Regions from separate parts of the Homo sapiens genome. Here all the other regions are linked to region 1. Evidence: promoter capture Hi-C in 16 types of primary human blood cells and fetal thymus (Javierre and others, 2016). All regions are on one chromosome and are shown on one strand. The core of a region is centred on a gene start or on the middle of the fragment in contact, and the rest is flanking DNA. Distances in the headings are between cores, read along the strand shown.

Region 1 (2,966 bases), core at 57-2,556:
TCTCGCTGTGTCGCCCAGGCTTGGGGTGCGGTGGCACGATCTCGGCTCACTGCAACCTCCACTTGCTGGGTTCAAGAGATTCTCCTGCCTCAGCCTCCCGAGTAGCTGGGATTACAGGCGCCCGCCACCACGCATGGCTAATTTTTGTATTTTAGTAGAGACACGGTTTCACTATGTTGGCCAGGCTGGTCTCGAACTCCTGACCTCAGATGATCCACCTGCCTTGGCCTCCCAGAGTGCTAGGATTACAGGCGTGAACCACTGTGCCTGGCCTCTCTCAGTGATTTTCTAAATGCAATACATTGTTATTAGGGGACTATAGATTTAAGGACAGTTTGATTTCCGGCACTGGGAAAAAACTAAGATGTTGTGTCAGGGAACTTTAAAAAAAAATAAATACTAATAAGTAATAATAATAAATAAATAAATTATATTTTGAGATGAGGTCTTGCTATGCTGACCAGGCTGGTCTTGAACTCCTGGGCTCAGGGCACTTCTGAAGAACAAGGACTGGGTTTGGGGTCACCAGCTAGGCCTAAACTTCCTAGGGTCAGGTAAACAGGGAGGGCCTGAGAAGCTGGGAGGCTGGGTCTAGGGGCCCATGGTCTCACGGTGCCCCAGGCTGAGGGTGAGGTACAGGGCTGACCTTCTGCTGGCCAAGGCTGGCTGCCCTCTGTGCACCCTAGCCCCACAGGAACAACTCAGTTCTGCCCAGCCCTCCCCTTCCCCCCAGCCCACTCTCCCCCATCTCCTGGAGTCTGGTCCCAGGCTTGCCTCAGGTAGTCCTGCCCCTGCCACCCTGAGGATCTCATCTTCCTGGGCTGAGGGACCTGCTTTTCTAGGCTTAGGAGAGGTTCTCTCTGTTCCCTAAAGTTTTCTTCTCTACGTGGGCTTTTTCACACAAACCCTTTTCCCCAGCAGCCATGACAGTGGGATGGCCGGCCCCTCTCCTCTCCCCAACTCCAACTGTCAGTGGAGAGGAGAAAGAGTTCCTGCCCGGCCTACCACCCAGTCTGACCACCAGTGGCCTATCCTTCCCCAAACAGTCTGAGAACGAGGCCCAGGTCCTGTCCTTAGGGAGCATCCAGTCTGATGGAAGAGTCACTCTCTGTACCCTCAAGGGGCATCCAGTCTGATGGAAGAGTCACTCTCTGTACCCTCAAGGGGCACCCAGTCTGATGCGGGACACAGCTCCTCCCCTGGGGGGAGGCTCTAGCCTGCAGGAGGTACAGGAGTGGGGCAAGGCCCCATGAGTGCCTACCTGGGGAGTACAGCATGCTGGTGGCTAGCTCGGTGCTTGACAGTTGAAGGTTCTGGTGGGAGGGGGAGAAGAGACCCTCCCCCCAGAACTCTCTCATTGCAGTGGGATTCCTAGGTCAGCAGCCGGTTTAACAGCTGCCTTCCCTTTTCTCCTTCTCAGTAACCCAGCCCCTTACCCAGCTGAGGGCTACCCGCTTTAGGGACAGATGACCCAGCACCCCTGCCTTGCACAGCCTCCACCAGCCTGGCTGTCCTCACTGTATCACGGTCATCCCATCAGGGTAGGTCCCAGTCCCTTTTTTTCAGCCCAAGGTTTCCAGGAAGGGGTTGTCCCTGACACACCAACCTGACCTTTACATCCAGAAAGCCTTCTCATTCCCAAAAGCCCCTTTCTCACTGACATGGCATTTTTCCTGTGTTGCTGTCTTCACATGGCACCCTCCTCTGTGTCTCTTCTTCTTATAAGGACACCAGTCATATGGGGCTAGGGTCCCATGCATTTCAGTATGACCTCATCTTAATTGAACGAATTACATCTGCAACCACCCTGTTTCCAAATGAGGTCACATTCTGAAGTACTGGGGGCCAGGACTTCAACATGCCTTTTTGGGGGACACGATTCCACCTGCAACACTCTCCTTGCCTAGCCCCAGTCTGGCAAGGTTAGGCCACTGGTCTGACCACATGTCCTGCCTCTGCACTGGAAAGTGGGAATGCTTTGAGCTAAGAACTCTGCTCCAGAGTGCAGTCTTCTCTGGAGTGTATGATGGCTGAGGACAGGGACTGTCAAGGTCATCCCAGTGCCCCTCAGCCCTGCCTGGTGCTAATCAGGCACAGAACAGGTGTGAGAGCACCCAATGGGATCAGAGAACCTTGTTCCAAGCTCTGAAACAGGAGCTGACCTTGGGCGAGCCCTCCCCCTTTCTCCTTTCTGGGACTCAATCTCCTCATCTACGAGAATATTAATTATGGTTTGTTATTATGTGCCAAACACTGGGCTAAGAACTTCCTACTTATTTAATCCTTAAAACAGCCAGAGGCCATGACATTGCTATTCCCATTTTATAGATGAGGAAAGTGAGGTCTAGAGGTATGATGCAACTTGCCCAGGGTCACACAGCTGTTAAGCGGTCGAGCCAGGATTTAAACTAATAACTTCAGATTTTTTTTTTTTTTTTTTTTTTTGAGATGGAGTCTCGCTCTTTTGCCCAGGCTGGAGTGAAGTGGTGCAATCTCAGCTCACTGCAACCTCTGCCCCCCGGGTTCAAGCGATTCTCCTGCCTCAGCCTCTCAAGTAGCTGGGATTACAGGTGCCCACCACCATGCCCAGCTAATTTTTGTATTTTTAGTAGAGACGGGGTTTCGCCATGTTGGGCAGGCTGGTCTCGAACTCCTGACCTCAGGTGATCACTCGCTTCGGCCTCCCAAAGCGCTAGGATTATAGGCATAAGCCACCGTGCCCGGCCATAACTTTAGCTCTTATCCGTATCTTCTGCTGCCCCCAGCTGTGAAAGGAGGAAGTGGTCTTTGGGGATCCTGTGGTCTCCCCTGCCCACTCCTGATTCCACTATTGCACCTCTTGGATGCCTCTAATGTGATCTGCCTGGACATGAACTCTGTGACGAGGTGCCAGGGGTAGGGTGCAGGCAGGCACGGGTGTTCCTCTCTATTACAGCCTCCCACCCTGGGGGAGGGCTGTCCTCAGG
Region 2 (3,338 bases), core at 413-2,912, 510 kb after region 1:
AGCCACCACACCCTGCCTTTTTTTTTTTTTTTTGTAGTGATGAGGTCTTGCTATATTGCCCAGGCTGGCCGAATGGACTGCTTTGTAAGGTAGTAAGCTCCCCTTTAGTCAAAAAGAGGCTGGCCGGGCATGGTGGCTCACGCCTGTAATCCCAGCACTTTGGGAGGCCGAGGCGGGTGGATTACTTGAGGCCAGGAGTTCGAGACCAGCCTAACCAGCATAGTGAAACCCTGTCTCTATTAAAATTACAAAAATAATAAATAAATAAATAATTGCCAAGCGCGGTGGGTGATCCCAGCACTTTGGGAGGCTGAGGCGGACGGATCACGAGGTCAGGAGATCGAGACCATCCTAGCTAACACGGTGAAACCCCGTCTCTACTAAAAATACAAAAAAAAATTAACCGGGCATGGTGGCGGGCGCCTGTAGTCCCAGCCACTCGGGAGGCTGAGGGAGGAGAATGGCGTGAACCCAGGAGGCGGAGCTTGCAGTGAGCCGAGATCGAGCCACTGCACTCCAGCCTGGGCGACAGAGCGAGACTCCGTCTAAAATAATAATAATAATAATAATAAATAAATAGCCAGGTGTGGTGGCACGTGCCTGTAATCCCAGCTATTTGGGAGGCTGAGGCAGGAAAATCGCTTGAATCCGGGAGGCGGAGGTTGCAGTGAACCAAGATAGCGACACTGCACTCCAGCCTGGGTGACAGAGCAAGACTCTGCCTCAAAACAAAAATAAATAAATAAATAGCTGGATGGTCCTGTATGGTAGTGACCAGGGAATTTTCCCCAGCTCTCTCCCCATTCCGCATTCGTTCTCTATTTCCAAAAGCGCCTCCAGCTCCAGAGCAGATACCTCTATCAAAGAGCACCACCCTCTCCCTCTGGCGTCTGACTCTTCTCCAAACTGAGCCTTCTCCAAACTGAGCCAGGCCCAGCACTTGGCTGGAACCTGGCTTCTTCTCCAGGTCCGCATTTTCCAGAAACCTTCCCACTGCTTCACCTGCGTTCTTGGCCCTGTCTCTCTTATAAACCCATCCGCATGTAAGTTTCTCTTGGCCTCCTCAGGCGGAGAACAAGCTCTCGCAAGGCCCCGCCCTCCGGGGGACATCGCCCGTCCATTGCCCCGCCCTCTCAGGCTCCGCCCTAGCCTCAGATTCCGAGACATCCCCATCCCCGCCCTTTCCCTCAACCACCTCTTGACCGTCCCCAGGCCCGCCCCCCAGGGTCTCCCCCATTCCACTCATCTCAGATCCCGCCCACACCTCCCTTGGCCCCATGGGCCCCGCCCCTTTCAATTGCTGCGACCCGCCCACCCCGCCCTGCCTCCAGGTAGCCACCCTCTGGGGAGCCCGTCCCGGGGGCCTCCTCACCTATAGAGCGTCTTGCGCGGTGCGAGCTGGTCCTCACTCAGGCCCTGCGCGATGTAGTAATCGGCGACGAGGCCAAGGATGCGGCCCCAGAAGAGAACCCGATCATAGCGGTAGTCGCGCTTAACCAGCATAAGAGACGTGAGCAGCGAGGCCCGACGGTCCGGGCTGAGGCCCTGCCCACTGCCGGACGCCAGCTCCAGAGACAGCAGGAGGCTGTCGGCGTCCATCAGGTCAGCGGCTCCGCTCAACGCCCGTCGAGTTGCTAGGAGAAGCCGCCTCCATGGAGACCTGAAGCTCCGCCCTTCCGCCTAGCTGGACGCTAGGTTCCACCCACCCCACCGCCTACCGCCCAGACCTCCTCCCCACGGAGGCCTAGGCATCAGCCCCCTCCCTCATCCTTTCCAGAGTTTGGGACGGGATGTCTTCAGTTGCCACGGCCACAGTATGGCTTCCCCTACAGTTAGGCTACAGTTGGGGTTGTAAGTCCAAACCCAGCCTTTTTCCATAGATATTTGGCCTTCCCTGAGCCCTTTCACATAGTCGACATTTAGAGTCTTTACTGTATATGGACCTGGGGTCTGGAAAGAAAACAATACAAAACCCCAACACTGACACTAACTGTACTATTTCACCCCAGTCATGTCACTTCTTGACCTCAGAATGATCTGTGAAGAATTTGAGATTCCTCCTGGCTCTAATTAAGATTCTGTCAACCCGACTACCTCCACCCGCACCCCACCCCAAGCCAGGTCTTACAGAATGAGGTCCATCCATTCTCTTCCATCTTCACCAGCTGTCTTCTTTATCTACCCTTTCCATAGAAATATTCTAAGTGACAAATGAAAATCTAGGCAATGGGGGCAAGGTATAGGGTAACACCTTGGGAAAGGAGGGTGAGGAGAGAGATACAAAAAGGGGGACTTTTATAGACTACACTTTCTCATCAACTACCACCTTTCTCATCAACTACCAACTACCACCAACTGTTGTTTTTAGATCCAAATGGTAGCAAGAGATGAAAGGCCAGAACCTCACTGCAACTGGAGCTTCACTCCCTGGGCTAGATCACTTCTCCACATTCACTTCTTGAGTCCCCAGCCAAGGACAAACAAACAGGTTCCTCAGCAAGCTTGTTGCCACAGGAGATGGGCTTTATCGTTAATGTTGCTAGTTGATATTTTCATTTCTGGATTCCTTTGAAGAGCACTCAGGAAATCAGAATGACCTGGGCCCCAGCTGATAAATAAGTGTGTAAATAACCCAGATAATTACTTTTTTGATTGTCTGGGCATTGTTGGTTTTCGGGGGTTGAGACAGGGTCTCACTTTGTCACCCAGGCTGGAGTGTAGTGGTGTGTGATCTCAGCTCACTGCAGCCTCAACCTCCTGGGCTCAAGTGATCTTCCCACCTCAGCCCCCCAGGTAGCTGGGACTACAGGTGTGTGCCACCACACCCAATATTTTTTGTATTTTTAGTAGAGACGGGGTTTTGCCATGTTGGCCAGGCTGGTGTTGAACTCCGAGCTCAAGTGATCCACTCACCTGAGCCTCCCAAAGTGCTGGGATTACAGGTGTGAACCACCACGCCCAGGCTTAGGCATTGTTTAGGAAGGCATTGTTATGAGATCAGCCTGACCAACATGGTGAAACCCTGTCTCTACTAAAAATACAAAACAGCCGGGCTTGGTGGCCCACAGCTGTAATCCCAGCTACTCGGGAGGCTGGGGCAGGAGAATGGCTTGAACCTGGGAGGCAGAGATTGCAGTGAGCCAAGATCATGCTACCGCACTGCAGCCTGGGCAACAGAGCGAGCCTGTCTCAAAAAATACAACTAACTAACTAAATAAATAAATAAAATTAGTATTTGAGGGAGTTGATTTGGCTTAATGTGTTATCTCAAAACAATTTATGGCTCTCTTGTTCACAACCACCCCCACTCCCTTTAGGCAGACCTCTCAGCCTTTCCT
Region 3 (2,959 bases), core at 143-2,642, 550 kb after region 1:
GCACTCCAGCCTAGACAACAAGAGCGAGATTCCGTCTCAAAAAAAAAAAAAAAAAGTATCCCAATATCCTCAGGTTTCATGCTTTGGGACAGTCTTATAATCAGATAATTTTGATGCTTCCCTGTGCATCACGGAGTTTCACACCGTTGGTGAGTAGTATTTGTTATAGTTTGTCAATTTATAACTTTTCAAATAAGGTTTCATGTGTACATTAGTACCACGGTTGTTATTTGGTTTTGTAAAACTTCAATATTTGAAAATAAATATATCAGGAAGTATTAAGTAAATTATTCTCAGAACAAAGACTTTATTTATTTATTTATTTATTTGTTGTTGTTGTTGTTGGAGACGGAATTTCGCTCTTGTTGCCCAGGCTGGAGTGCAATGGCGCAATCTCGGCTCACCGCAACCTCCACCTCCCAGGTTCAAGCAATTCTCCTGCCTCAGCCTCCCAAGTAGCTGGGATTATAGGCATCCACCACCATGCCTGGCTAATTTTTGTATTTTTAGTAGAGACAGGGTTTCACCATGTTGGCTGGGGTGCTCTTGAACTCCTGACCTCAGGTGATCTGCCTGCCTCGGCCTCCGAAAGTGCTGGGATTACAGCCGTGAGCCACCGCGCCCGGCCCTATGAACAAAGACTAGGAGACTCCACCATATTATAGGTCTGTACACATAATTATACTGCCAATATATTTAGATAAGTAATAAGCGATTAACTAAACTTTGATTTTATTTTGTATAATATTCAATATACATCTGTAAGTGAGCAACTGACTTACCTCTCTCTCATAATTATATTTCTATTGTGAATTTGGAATACTTTAAAAAAAGTAAGGGCTTTATTAAATATGCAATTAAAGGATTCCAATCCTGAAAATCATTAATATCTGGACAGAAAATGAAGATGCTCCAAAAAGAGGCTTATATTTCATGACCAACAGAAGTGAAGTTTACTAATGAATATGACATTTGGTATAATACCAGTGGAGCTTGTAACTGAGTTGGGATGTCAGATAGAGAATATCAGTGAACACAGGTCACCTTTATAATCAAGAAATATGCTTTTAAGATAGAACAATCAAGTAGTTTGAAGTTCCCAAATGTATCCTTGAAATTTGAGCTCTGTTCTCCAAGTGCAACTGGTCATTTCCCTGACCAAGCCAATACAGAGTAAGGGTCTAACCTCCTGGGAACTGGAATGTATCAGCTGTCGGCAAAGGATCTGTGCTGAGCTGTCTTGTTTCTGAGGTTGGTACTGTATTTTCTCCCAGAGTAACAGGTACTGGTAGTCTGAGTCAGAGTCTATCCCAGATGGAAGAGCTCAGATTCCTACTACTTGTAGAGCTAAGACAGAGATTCCTACTACTTGTAGAACTGAGACAGACCTCAGGTGATTCACCCACCTTGGCCTCCCAAAGTGCTGGGATTACAGGCGTGAGCCACTGCGCCCGGCCGATACTTTAATAATAACTTTAAAATGACATTTACCCTTTACCTCATTGAAGGACTAATCTGTACATAAAAGCATATTTCATCTTCTGAAATTCAGCTCATGTGAAAATTTGAGTGATTAGACACAATGAGGAACTTTATGATAAAAATTATGTCTTGTAGAGCTAAGACAGAGCTAAGAATCATCATCTATTCTGAGAAGATGAGCTAGAAAAGAACTCACCATTCTGTCTGGATTCCAGAAGTATTACAGTTCTTGATGACAGTAAATGCATCATGGCTCATCTTGTGAGCATCATAGCGGGTAAGGGCACAGCAGCGGCGCAGGCTGCTGAGGCGTTTGTCTCCTTGTACACGAATGCTCACAACCAGCTGGGTGGCTACCCTGTCATTCTGTGGGTGGAAAGGATGGAGACCAGAAATAAAGTTATGAGGAGCATCTGAATTCTAGGTACTGAACTGCAGGAGAGGAAATTAAAAGAACCAGGGTGACAATGGTTTGGAAACAGTAGTTTAAAAGTCAAGAATAAAGGTAAACTGAGTTCTGCAAAGAGTAAAGATAAAATATAAAAAAGAGAAAGAGGCCAGGCATGGTGGCTCACGCCTGTAATCCCAGCACCTTGGGAGGCTGAGACAGGTGGATCACCTGAAGTCAGGAGTTCGAGACTAGCCTGGCAAACATGGCGAAATCCCATCTCTACTGAAAAATACAAAAAAACTAGCCAGTCGTGGTGGCAGGCACCTGTAATCCCAGCTACTCGGGAGGCTGAGACAGGAGAATTGCTTGAACCTGGGAGGCAGAGGTTGCAGTGAGCCAAGATGGTGCCACTGCACTCCAGCCTGGATGACAGAGCAAGACTCTGTCTCAAAAAAAAAAAAAAAAAAAAAAAGAATCTATATATATGCAACAGAATGCATTTTCTGAATAGAAATCTGATTACATGGTTCCACAAAAAAGTGTTAATGCTATTTCTGGGTGTAAAAAGTAACTGAAGAAGACATAATTTGGATTATGGAACATCGGAGTATCCTAGGATGTTTTGACAGATGATGGGAACAGGACAGCACAAATGAAAATGGGACTCCCCTAAATGTTTTTCATGGTGTCTAAGCAGGACAATTATAACAAATATCTACAATACTAGATACTATTTTGTGACTGAAGGAAGGTTTCAGGTAAGTAATTGTCTGAAAGCAAAGTGGAACTAGGCTTCAAGTCATATCTTTTTTTCTGCCCTGGGGCTCTTATGGTAAACAAACATTCGCCACCAATTCCAGAAGTTTCTACCAACACCTTTTTACAGCTTATCTAGAGAAGATACCATATAGTGAGCCTGCCTTGAGAGAGCAAGATCATGACTCACTTTTCAGTGAAGTCTGAAGCATCTGAATGCTGTAATCTCAGCAAACTGAGACATAATGGTCAAGAGGCAGAAATATAAGAAGGTGAAAATTCTACATAAGGGACCCCTATCAAAAGATGCTAGTGAGAAGAAGTATCCCT
Region 4 (3,249 bases), core at 102-2,601, 570 kb after region 1:
AGAACAATAAATACTATTAAAACATCCATCATTTAAAACAATTTATACTAGTATATATTAGCTTTGGGAAACAAAAATATGAATAATTTACTGTAATTGTATGACTTTCTGGACCTTTTTAAACAGTTAGAGCTAAATTTTCTCTGCTTTAGATTTTTTTCATCATTGCTTTCCCAGATTGGGTAATGTTGCAATCCTGTGGCAATGTAGATTTTTAAATTTAATCCTTTATCTGTATTAACTGAACGGGACCACAGAAGATAAGCAGAATTCCCTTATTTCCCTACAATGCTTTTTACCTTTTCTCTAGTTGATAAGAAAAATCTATAAAATTTTGGTTTTTCTTCAATACCATGAAATGGACTACAGGAAATACTTCAGGTAGTTCTGGTGTTAAATGCCCATGAAAGCTGAGAAAAAACTTTTCTTTCTTTCTTTTTTTTTTTTTTTTTTTTTGAGACGGAGTCTCACTCTGTTGCTAGGCTGGAGTACAGTGGCGCAATCTCAGCTCACTGCAACCTCTGCCTCCTGGGTTCAAGTAATTCTCCTGCCTTACCCTCCCGAAAAGCTAGGATTATAGGCATGCGCCACCACACCCAGCTAATTTTTGTATTTTTAGTAGAGACAGGGTCTCACCATGTTGGCCAGGATGGTCTCAATCTCATGACGTCATGATTCGCTCACCCTGGCCTCTCAAAGTGCTGGGATTACAGGCGTGAGCCACTGTGCCCAGCCAAGAGTTTTTCTTGTTGAATTATCTTGGCACCTTTGTGGAAATGAATTGCCACCACACACACCCCAGCCTGAAAAGTGGGGATCTACTTGTATACTTTCTATTCTATACCATTAATCTACGTATTTTCTCACACCAATACCAAACTTCCCTAGTTACAAATTTATAGTTAAATCTTGAAATCAGGTAGTATGTCTTCCAACTTAGTTCTTTTTCAAAGTTGTTTGGCTACTCCACATTCTTTGCATTTCCATACAAATTTTAGAATCAGTTTGTCAATTTCTGTGGGATTTTGGAAGGGACTGCAATGAATCTATACGTCAATTTGGGGAGAATTGAGCACTAGTAAGATTTAGTCTTTTGATACATGAGGATAGTATAATCTTTCCATTGAATTTTATAATCTTTAATAATAATTATATGATCATTATAAGATAAAGCCAGACACAGTGGCACATGCCGATAGTTCCAGCTACTTGGAAGCCTCAAGTGGGAGGATCACTTGAGCATGAGTTCACAGGTAACATGGGCAACACAGTGAGACCCCATCTCAAAAATAATCATTATAAAACTGTTTTGTAAGGCCAGGTGCAGTGGCTCACGCCTATAATCCTGGCACTTTGGGACGCTGAAGTGGGAAAATTGCTTGAGGCCAGGAACTCATCAAGACCAGCCCGGGCAACATAGTGAGACCATGTCTCTGTGTTTTAAAATAATAAAGAAATGAATTAAGAAAAAACAAAGGGAAAAGAAAAGGCCCTTAGCTAACAAACCAGTTACAAAATGGCAATGATGGGAAAGTTTCACCTTGACAATTTCTGAGAAGTACTTTAAGTAAATCTTACTACTTAAACTTTACACACAAATAACTATTTTAGAAAATACAAGGCCAGGCGTAGTGGCTGACGCCTGTAATCCCAGCACTTTGGGAGACCAAGGCGGGCAGATCACGAGGTCAGGAGATCGAGACCATGCTGGCTAACACGGTGAAACCCCGTCTCTACTAAAAAAAATACAAAAAAATTAGCCGGGCGTGGTGGCGGCCAACAGTAGTCCCAGCTACTCGGGAGGCTGAGGCAGGAGAATGGCGTGAACCCGGGAGGTGGAGATTGCAGTGAGCCGAGATTGCACCACTGCACTCCAGCCTGGGCGACAGAGCGAGAAAGAGACTCCCTCTCCAAAAAAAAAAAAAAAAAAGAAGATACAAAGCTGCAAATGCAGGAGGGCTGAGCATGATTGCTAGCTCTTATAGGAGGCAAGATGGAAAAGTTGATGGAAAGCTCAGTATCAAGGTATTACAAATACCTCGCCTCTTTTCTTAGATTTGAAATATATTGTATCCATGAAAAATGATTTCTGGAAGGTTATATCCACTTAGATCAGCTAATTTCTGTTATCAGGTTTTTGTGGTTGCACACATCAAAGATTCAGGAATATGATATGAAATATTTCCTAGACATTGCACTGTTCTGAACATTACATATAATAAGATGCTGGCACTGCATCTGGGAGCTTAATATTTAAGTTGGACACACTAATGCAACAGACACAAGACATACAGAAATAGACCTCTCTATAAACATGGGCATTTTTAATAAAAAAATGTACATAGGTAAGAAAAGTAAGTGTAGAAGAAAGAGGAACACGTCCATCTGAGTTAACATTCAACTACCAAGGAAGGTATATACCATCTTCAGCCAGAGATAATAGAATGCTTCAACAATGCTCTGCAGCAAAAACCAATATAATGTGTAAGACTAGTTCTAATTCTGAGGTATGTGGATTTCAGAGGGTTTGTGAATCTCCTGAAAACTGCATGCAAAATTGTCTTATGTATAGATACAAATTTTTCGGAGGCCAGCAAGGGTCTATAGCTTTCAACAAATTTTTAAGAGTATGTAATTCTCAAATAAACTTTAAAGAGCCACAAATTCAAGGCATTATAAAACCAATTCCAAATATTTAAAAAAAAAAAAAAAATCAGGCTGGGTGCGGTGGCTCATGCCTGTAATCCCAGCACTTTGGGAGGCCAAGGCAGATGGATAACTTGATGCCAGGAGTTTGAGACCAGCCTGACCAACATGGCGAAACCCCGTCTCTACTAAAAATACAAAACTTAGCCAGCATGGTGGCATATGCCTATAATCCCAGCTACTCAGGAGGTTGAGGCATGAGGATCACTTGAACCCTGGAGGTGGAGGCTGCAGTGTGCCAAGATCTCACAACTGCATTCCAGCCTGGGTGACACCAAAAAAATCAGTGTTGCATATGGAAACTAAAAAAAAAGAAAGTTATGTAATAAGATGTGGTACAGAAAGGTAAGACCAAAGAACACCTTTCTTATTATGATAATTAAATTTCTGACTCTGGTCCCAGAATAATAAAATATCAAATATCAAAAGCTTATGTACCATGATTTTGCTTCCTCTATAAGTGGCACATCTTTATTGTCCATTATATTTTGTCCAAAGAACTAAAGGATCTGCAGCCTCTAGCTTGACATACTTTGCATTATC

What was found. The method cuts DNA at HindIII sites, captures the fragments that hold promoters and counts their contacts. A CHiCAGO score of 5 or more calls a contact.
Region 2: a contact is called between the fragment with the promoter of RSPH9 here and the fragment with the promoter of CAPN11 in region 1, in 2 of 17 cell types (M1 macrophages and activated CD4 T cells). The highest score is 7.3, in M1 macrophages.
Region 3: a fragment that was not itself captured here is called in contact with the fragment with the promoter of CAPN11 in region 1 in 2 of 17 cell types (M1 macrophages and total CD8 T cells); the score reaches 5.6 in M1 macrophages.
Region 4: a fragment that was not itself captured here is called in contact with the fragment with the promoter of CAPN11 in region 1 in 3 of 17 cell types (erythroblasts, M2 macrophages and M0 macrophages); the score reaches 6.7 in erythroblasts.

Annotation. Positions count from the first base shown.
Region 1 is chr6:44,157,160-44,160,125 of GRCh38, reverse strand. CAPN11 (calpain 11) reads right to left here and starts at 1,306. Exons shown (of 23, transcript NM_007058.4): 1 at 1,262-1,306. The coding sequence starts at 1,277. It overlaps LOC107986599 (a long non-coding RNA gene), which reads left to right and starts at 1,523. Exons shown (of 3, transcript XR_002956350.2): 1 at 1,523-1,541. RefSeq lists an enhancer at 1-129. The HindIII fragment of the contact is 9,288 bases long and covers 1-2,966 here.
Region 2 is chr6:43,643,360-43,646,697 of GRCh38, reverse strand. It overlaps RSPH9 (radial spoke head component 9), which reads right to left and starts at 1,662. Exons shown (of 5, transcript NM_152732.5): 1 at 1,373-1,662. The coding sequence starts at 1,599. RefSeq lists a silencer at 2,055-2,243. The HindIII fragment of the contact is 7,744 bases long and covers 1-2,503 here.
Region 3 is chr6:43,609,443-43,612,401 of GRCh38, reverse strand. POLH (DNA polymerase eta) reads right to left here. Exons shown (of 11, transcript NM_006502.3): 10 at 1,679-1,848. Among named protein-coding and RNA genes, the nearest start is that of GTPBP2, 18 kb to the left of the region's middle. RefSeq lists a silencer at 216-441. The HindIII fragment of the contact is 4,533 bases long and covers 1-2,959 here.
Region 4 is chr6:43,591,086-43,594,334 of GRCh38, reverse strand. All of the region lies in intron 4 of POLH (DNA polymerase eta), which reads right to left. Among named protein-coding and RNA genes, the nearest start is that of POLH, 17 kb to the right of the region's middle. The HindIII fragment of the contact is 3,573 bases long and covers 1-3,137 here.